2 separate regions of the Homo sapiens genome follow, and region 1 is linked to region 2. The links are contacts of gene promoters, found by promoter capture Hi-C in blood cells and fetal thymus (Javierre and others, 2016). All regions are on one chromosome and are shown on one strand. Each heading gives the region's core, a stretch centred on a gene start or on the middle of the fragment in contact. The rest is flanking DNA. Distances are from core to core; before and after follow the strand shown.

Region 1 (3,434 bases), core at 681-3,180, 340 kb after region 2:
CCAGGAAGTGCAAGACTCTGACCCAACGCCCATGCCTGCCATCCCCAAACATGGGCTCAAAACCCCCTTCCCAGGGACGGCTGTGTCCACCCCTCAGCAGGAGGAGGAGACCCCACAGCACCGGGTGAGAGGTCAGTGCTGAAGCCAGGGAGGCAGCTCTCAGCAGGGCACCTGTGTGGAGCCAGGGAAGCCAGGGCCACACTTGCAGGGTGAAGTGGGGAACTCGGAAGGCTGGGCAGTGGAGCAAAATGCTTGGTGCCCTGCGGGAACCGGTGGCCAAGGCTACACTGGGATGAAGGGAGCCGTGGAGCTGCAGAATCTGCGGGTGGCCCTCAGTGGCAGGCAGCCAGGCCAACAGGGGCTTTGGGCTGCAGGTCAGCCCCTCCCCTGCTCTGGAACTTTTGGAGGGCCATTACAAAGGACATCAGCCCCAAGATACTCCTCTGAAATTCTGCCTGAAAGGCCCTTCACATTCCCTAATTGGCACTTACAACATTCCAGAACATTCTATGGTACCTTAAGTTTCTCCTCCCCCTCCAAAGGGCCCTTGAACCTTAAGGATAGGGCAGAAGGGGCTCCTCACCCTGGCCTCGAGGGCTTAAGATCCAGCTGAGGACTCCTAGCCTCCCTGTGTGCTGGGCAGGAAAGTAGCTCCATGTCACTGCTGTCCCTGGGAAAGGAAAAAAGGTTGAGGAAGGGCTCAGAGCCAGCCTTCAGACCAGGCAGGAAGGGTTCAGAGCCAGCCTTCAGGCCATGCAGGCCTCCTGGATGTGCTTACTAACTCTGGGCTCGCTGTTCTCTGAGCTGGCTGGGAGTTCCCCTCTGCACCCCCGTTTCCTCCCCTGTAAGGTGGGAATAATAGCGTATGTCTCTAGGATTAAGTGAGCCAGTCATGCATGGGCCGAGAACCAGGTTTGGCATATTGTAGCTGCTCAGTGGACGTTAGCTGTTATGATTGGACCACAACGTGCTTCCGTTTCAATTCTGTGGGCCTTTTGGAGGTCCTGCTGGATGCTAAGCACCGAAACCTCAACCCGGAACAAGACCAGAACAACCTGAGCAACAACAGGACCAGCGATGGCTCTCCCTGCTGGAGGATTCTGGAAGTCACCTGGCTGGACCAAGCCCTCTCCGTGTTCTCTGTCAGCCCACTCCCCAGAGCCGCTAGGCCTGATGTGCACAAGCAGACTAATAAAGGCTTGAGGACAAAAAGGGTTTTGAGTGATAAGTGAAAAAAGAAAGGAGATAGGGCTGGGCCAACAGGCCTTCCCTTGGTGGTGGGGAGCCCTCAGAGGTGGGAGGAACCCCAGAGGTGAAGAGAGGGACATGGTGGGGGCACAAAAAAAGCTTCCAGAGCCACAGGCCTGGGCGAGTCCTGACATGGAGCCCAGTCTCATACGGCCTCTTTCCCTAGTGGCTGGCTTTGCTCCTGGCCCTAGGTAGCCCAACAGCTGGGCAAGGGGTCCGTCTGGTCAGGGGAAAGGTGCAGGGGCAGAAGGTAGCAGAGGGAGAAAAGGACACCCTGTCTGCCTCTGGCCCCAAAGACAAGTCCGAATGGGGCCAGAGGGAAATGGCTGGGCCTTGGGGTGCCCCAGGGTCTTGGAGGGGACCGGGTGTTCAGGTTTCGCACAAGTACAGGAGGGACCGGCGACCGCCCTCCCCCCGCCCCGGGAGGCTCCGCCAGGGACAGGCGTCCCCGGGATTGGAGGTGACCCCCGTGGGTTCCGAAGCCCCGCCTCGGCCATGCACTGTCTACTAGGCGCGCTTGGGGAGCCTAGGGGCCGTCTCGGAGAAATGGGGTGGTCCCCGCCAGGCGGCGGCGGGGCGGGCCCTGGGCGCCGAAGGGGTTAAGGCACCTGGGCCACCGCCCCTGCCGGCCCCTCCTCCCGCGGCCGGGAAGAGGAAAGTCGCGGCGGGGGCGCGGCCCGGTCTCCGTCCCCACCCGCCCGCCGTCCCGCCGGCCCGAGCCGTGGCGCCCAGAGCTGCGAGCCGCTCGCCCCTCCGCCGCTCCGGCCCGGGCCGCCATGTCGCTGTGGTGAGTGGGGCTGGGGGCCGTCGGGGGCCTGGGCGGGGGCGTGGGCCCGGGGCTCCCCCTCCTCCGTGGCCACAGACGGGCGCCGGGACTCCCGGGATAGGAGATGCCCCCGCGCGCGCCGCGCCGGCCTCAGTTTCCCGGGGGCGGATGGGCGGGCGGGCGCGGCGGCGGCGGCGGGAGATGTTCGCGGTACGCGGCCCCGGACCCGTGGGGGACGTCGAGGGGTCTCGGGGCGCCGCGCTCAGCTCCCCGGCCCCGCGGCCCTGGACACCGCTCCAGGACCCTGGCGGCTGGGACCCCAGGTCTTGCCGGCAGCTGGGTCCCCTCTCCCTTCCAGACCCCTGAGGGCCCCCTGCGTCCGGGCCACTCTCCTCCTCTCGGGGCTTCCTTCCGCGGGACCTCGGACCGCCGCCCGCCCGGCCCCTCTCCGCCCCTCCCGGGCTTTCCCTACGAATGGAGCGGACCCGGCAGGTGGAGCGCCCGCAGCCCAGGGCCTCGCCGCCTTCCCGGTGCACCCCCCGACCTCCCCCGTCCCGGCCTCGGTGGGCGGCTTCCCTGGAACCCCTAGGGCTGGCAGGGCCGGATCCGGAGCCCTCCGTTTCCTCCCCGGAGAGCTGGACCTTGGGTCACACCCCCCAGCCTGCACCTAAGGTGCCCCTGTCTTCCTCCAACCACATGCCCCAGCAACCTGGGGACCCTATGGGGAAAATGTCGCTCTATGGGGCTCAGCCTGCATTCACCCTGGGGCCTGGACCTGCAACCGGACCAGCCCTCAGGGCAACCCAGGCGTCTCCACGGGCTGCCTGTCTCTCCTGGCACCCTGCTCCTCCCCCTTGGAGGTCAGCGCCATCTCTCTGCTAGGCTGGCCCTGGAAGGCCACTCTGCTGTCCCCAGAGCTCTCAGCCCCCAGGTCTCCACTGGGGAGGGTGGGGCAGGTGTCCTGGCAGCCCCCGGAGGGTGAGATGAAGAGAGGAGGTCCTTCAGGACAGGGGCTCAGGCCCCAGGGCTTGGGACGACCAGCACTCCTGGCAGAGAGCTCTAATTTCTGCTTCCGAAATGGGTGTGGACCGGGGTTGGGGTGGGGGGGTCTCTGGGCAAGAAGGGTCCCTCAAGGGCTGGAGCTGCAAATGTGCCCCCTCCCAGGGAGTAGAGCTGTAGCCTCATGTCTTCTAATGGGGTGTTATGAGCTGGGGATGTTAAGGTAGGGGTGAGGGGCAGTGCCATGCTAGAGGTGCTCACTGCATCCTTGGGCCTCCATCAACCATGAGGGCTGCTCTTTGTTGGGTGAGACAGACTGGAGAAGGGGGAGGAGGGCCAGTCTTCCTCAGGTCCCAAGCTCGAGCCACTCTCCAATGTGCCCCACATGTGATGGAGCTCCCGGGCGGCACAGAGGATCAGA
Region 2 (3,466 bases), core at 350-2,849:
ATTCACCATCCTGTGGAGCTTGTATTTTCTTTCGCTGGTCCTGCTTTACTCATTTTCATTACCTGTTGGCATTTGTTTGTGACTCCTCTAGGGGTTTGGGGAATACAACTGTCTTCATGTGAGGGCTTGGTAGAAGTGCCTCTGTAGAGCCAGGTGCAGTGACTCACATCTTTAATCCCAGCATTTTGGGAGGCCGAGGCGGGCGGATCATGAGGTCAGGAGATCGAGACCATCCTAGCTAACATGGTGAAACCCTGTCTCTACTAAAAATACAAAAATTAGCCGGGTGTGGTGGCATACACCTGTAGTCCCAGCTACTTGGGAGACTGAGCAGGAGAATCGCTTGAACCCAGGAGGCGGAGGTTGCAGTGAGCCGAGATCGCGCCATTGCCCTACAGCCTGGGTGGCAGAGGGACACTCCATCTCAAAAAAAAAAAAAAAGAAGTACCTCTGTAGAATGACACCCCAAGTAATCTGTTTACTTTGCATGCACATCTTCTCGAGCCCTGCCTTTCAATCTGAGCCACAGGCTCTTCAAAAATGTTCAATAATTATATTTAATATATTTTAAACAACCACAGTTTAAGAATTCTAATTTAAACAAAAAAAGTCACAGATACAACAAAATGTGTTATCAAGCACATTTAATTCACTGGCAACCACAAGACATTGATTGTGCCCCTAGGTTACGTAGAAGGCCGTAGAAATGAACTCGCCATCGCTGTGCGATTGAAGAGTTTAGCTTGATAGTGCAAGGCCGGTGGCTGAAAAAAATGCTACCGTTTGCCCTATTCCTTGTCAAGACTTTCTCAGTACTGACTCTTGAAATAAATTGACTTCTTGAAGCTAGCATAAGACTGCAAATGGCCATTGCAACTGCCATTTCAAATTTCTGAAGATGTATTAGAAACGAAGAACCCACTGCCGTCGGGGGAAAGAGGACCTGGGCAGATAGAAGGAAAGAATGGAAGACATTTTTTCTCCCTTGGAAAGGCTTTCGCCATATAACTACTGCACATTTTAATATATTGACAACACTGGACATTTTTCCAAAAGTAAGTAAAAACCTTCATTGTTCAACTTTATAATAAGCCAATGATTACTTGTGGATTCATTATGATAATAAAGCACTTCTATGGGGATTTTCTTTTTTTTATGATAGGTTTTGCTTTAGAAAACAATTGAAAGCCACTTTTCTGGGAAAAAAAACAAAAAACAAAAAAAAACGCTGTTTGCGGCAGCCCCAATTCCCTAAGCATTATCTGGTGGGAGATGTGTTGCAGCGAGACCTCCCACCAGTAGGTGGCACTGCGCGCAATGCTCGCACCTCCCCTCAACACCCTTTCTCTCAGCAATGGCGGGTGATGGTGGGGGTCCTCTCTTTGCAGGGCTGGCCATTCTAATGCCTGACCTCAGGTGCAGACCAGTGTTCCGTTGCGCGGGACTCCTGACCTCGAGGAGGTTTAGAGAAAACAATGGTGTTCTCTGTGTACCCTTCCGCGAGGGCTGGGGAGTATACCGCCGCGCAGAAGACGCAGGCCAGGGGAGAATTCGCGCCGGGCGGCAGGCGGGGTGGCGGGCAGCCCCTGGGCGGGCGGGGTCCTGGCGAGAAGCGAGCCGGCGGCCTGAGGAGGCGACTGACTGAGCAGCGCACCCGGGGAGCAAGGAGGCGCGGTGAACTGAGCGGCCCCTGAGCTGACAGATACACTGCGCAGCTGGAACGGCGAGCGAGCCGACGGGCGAGTGAGGGGCGCAGCCATGATCACCTCGGCCGGTGAGTGCGGCCCGTAGCCAGCGCCTGGAGGGAGGAGCCGCCGCCGCGCCGGCTTTTAGCTGAGTCAGGGCCGGTGACTGGGCGCCTCCCGGCGGAACGCCGGCCTGGGCAGCTTCTTGCTGCCCAGGGCCCACCCCCGGGCCGGGGGGCTGGGAGTCTGATCAGGTCACTGCGTGCTTCTCTGGCTTGAGGGAATCGAGCCGGGTCGACCGCCTCGGCATCCCTCCCCAATCACACCCCAGCGCCAGGACCCGAGGGGCTTCCTGGGCCTTCCCCTGACCCCAGAAGGGCTTACCTTTTTTCTGTGCCTCCCATTCTTGGCCGTGTGAGGTCGTCCAGCCCCAGTTCTTGCCCGCAGGGGGCCGGGGTGGGATGGGCCCCTGTGCCATTGAACAGTAAGGCAAACCCCCCTGATCGGGCAGCCTAACTGCTACAGAAGTGTTTCTGGACGTGGCCGAGCTCCATTCGCCTTAGAATGAAACCCGAAATTAGGTTTGAGGTGGGTCATTTCTGGGTCCGATCCAAGGGTGTTCATTCAAAACACCCAGAGAACTTTTGGGTTCGGCGAAGACCCTAAAGACGCCCTGGAGATACCTTTATACTGAGAGCCTACTTATACCCTTTCGAGGTTATGTGCTCAGTCTGTTGACTGTACATTCAAGAAAGAATGGATGGATCTGCGGAGCAGGTTTCATACGCGCAAACCATTGCATAGGTAGATTCACGTAGTGACATTTGCAATGGAGTAAGTTACAGAGATCAAGTTTCAATTGGAGACTTAAGCTCCCCGTTACAGATTGACTTGCATATAGCTGTCCAGAGCCTTGGTGCTTTTTTCCGTTGCCTATTTACATACCCTTTTCTCATTTTCTTACTCTGTGTTTGACCCACAAAGAAAGCATTTTATTGTAAACAAACTGGTGAGCAGAAGACAGTAATCTGAATGGTAAGGCGATCAAAACTTTATTTTTATGAGGATTGGTTAAGGAGATCGTTGGAGATACTGGGAGACGTAGTTACTTTCAAACATTTGAAGAGCTGTCACTTGTACCTGAAATAAGACTTTTTGTCCCCAAGAGATACAAGTGATCGCGAGATGAATTTTAGTTCAGTATCAGGAAGTTTTTCCAGTCAGAGCTTTGTAAAGATCAAATAAACACTCAGTTTCTTGCCACCTATAGGCCTCATTCTATTTCAAATCCATCCATTACCAATGTTTCTTCTAACTCGGCCCAAACCACCTTCATCTCTTGTCTGGGTTACTATATCAGCCTTAAGGCTTTGTTTTCGACCATTACCTCCGTACAGCCCGTTTTTCTTGTGGACTATGCTTTTTAAAACTTTAATCACATAATACTTCTTTGCTTACAATCCACCAGTGCTTACATTGTGTTTAGAGCAGCCGTGTCCAACCCTTTGAATTCGAGGACTTTTTTTCTTACTGTGGTGGTCGGACATCGTGAAAATTATATACAAACCTTTTTTTTTTTTTTTAAGCTCATTAGCTATCATTAGTGTTAGTGTATTTTATGTATGCCCCAAGATACTTCTTCCATTGTGGCCCAGGGGAGCCAAAAGGTTGGACACCCCTGGCATACAGTAAAATCCAGACTCTTAACCAAGGACCCACATGATCTGATTCCCGCCTTGTCTTGTAGTACTGTCTTCACTCAATACATCCTAATCACACTG

Evidence for each region. Contacts are between HindIII fragments. The CHiCAGO score rates a contact against its expected background, and 5 or more counts as called.
Region 1: a contact is called between the fragment with the promoter of B3GNT7 here and the fragment with the promoter of PSMD1 in region 2, in 14 of 17 cell types (M0 macrophages, M1 macrophages, total B cells and 11 more). The highest score is 18.8, in M0 macrophages.

The regions. Positions count from the first base shown.
Region 1 is chr2:231,393,780-231,397,213 of GRCh38, forward strand. B3GNT7 (UDP-GlcNAc:betaGal beta-1,3-N-acetylglucosaminyltransferase 7) reads left to right here and starts at 1,931. Exons shown (of 2, transcript NM_145236.3): 1 at 1,931-2,035. The coding sequence starts at 2,025. RefSeq lists enhancers at 1-135, 136-717, 1,013-1,062, 3,331-3,434 and a silencer at 1,613-2,082. The HindIII fragment of the contact is 8,411 bases long and covers 1,346-3,434 here.
Region 2 is chr2:231,055,268-231,058,733 of GRCh38, forward strand. It overlaps PSMD1 (proteasome 26S subunit, non-ATPase 1), which reads left to right and starts at 1,600. Exons shown (of 25, transcript NM_002807.4): 1 at 1,600-1,774. The coding sequence starts at 1,759. LOC112268432 (a long non-coding RNA gene) reads right to left here and starts at 2,479. Exons shown (of 2, transcript XR_002959456.2): 1 at 2,070-2,479. RefSeq lists a silencer at 1,501-1,690. The HindIII fragment of the contact is 9,212 bases long and covers 1-3,466 here.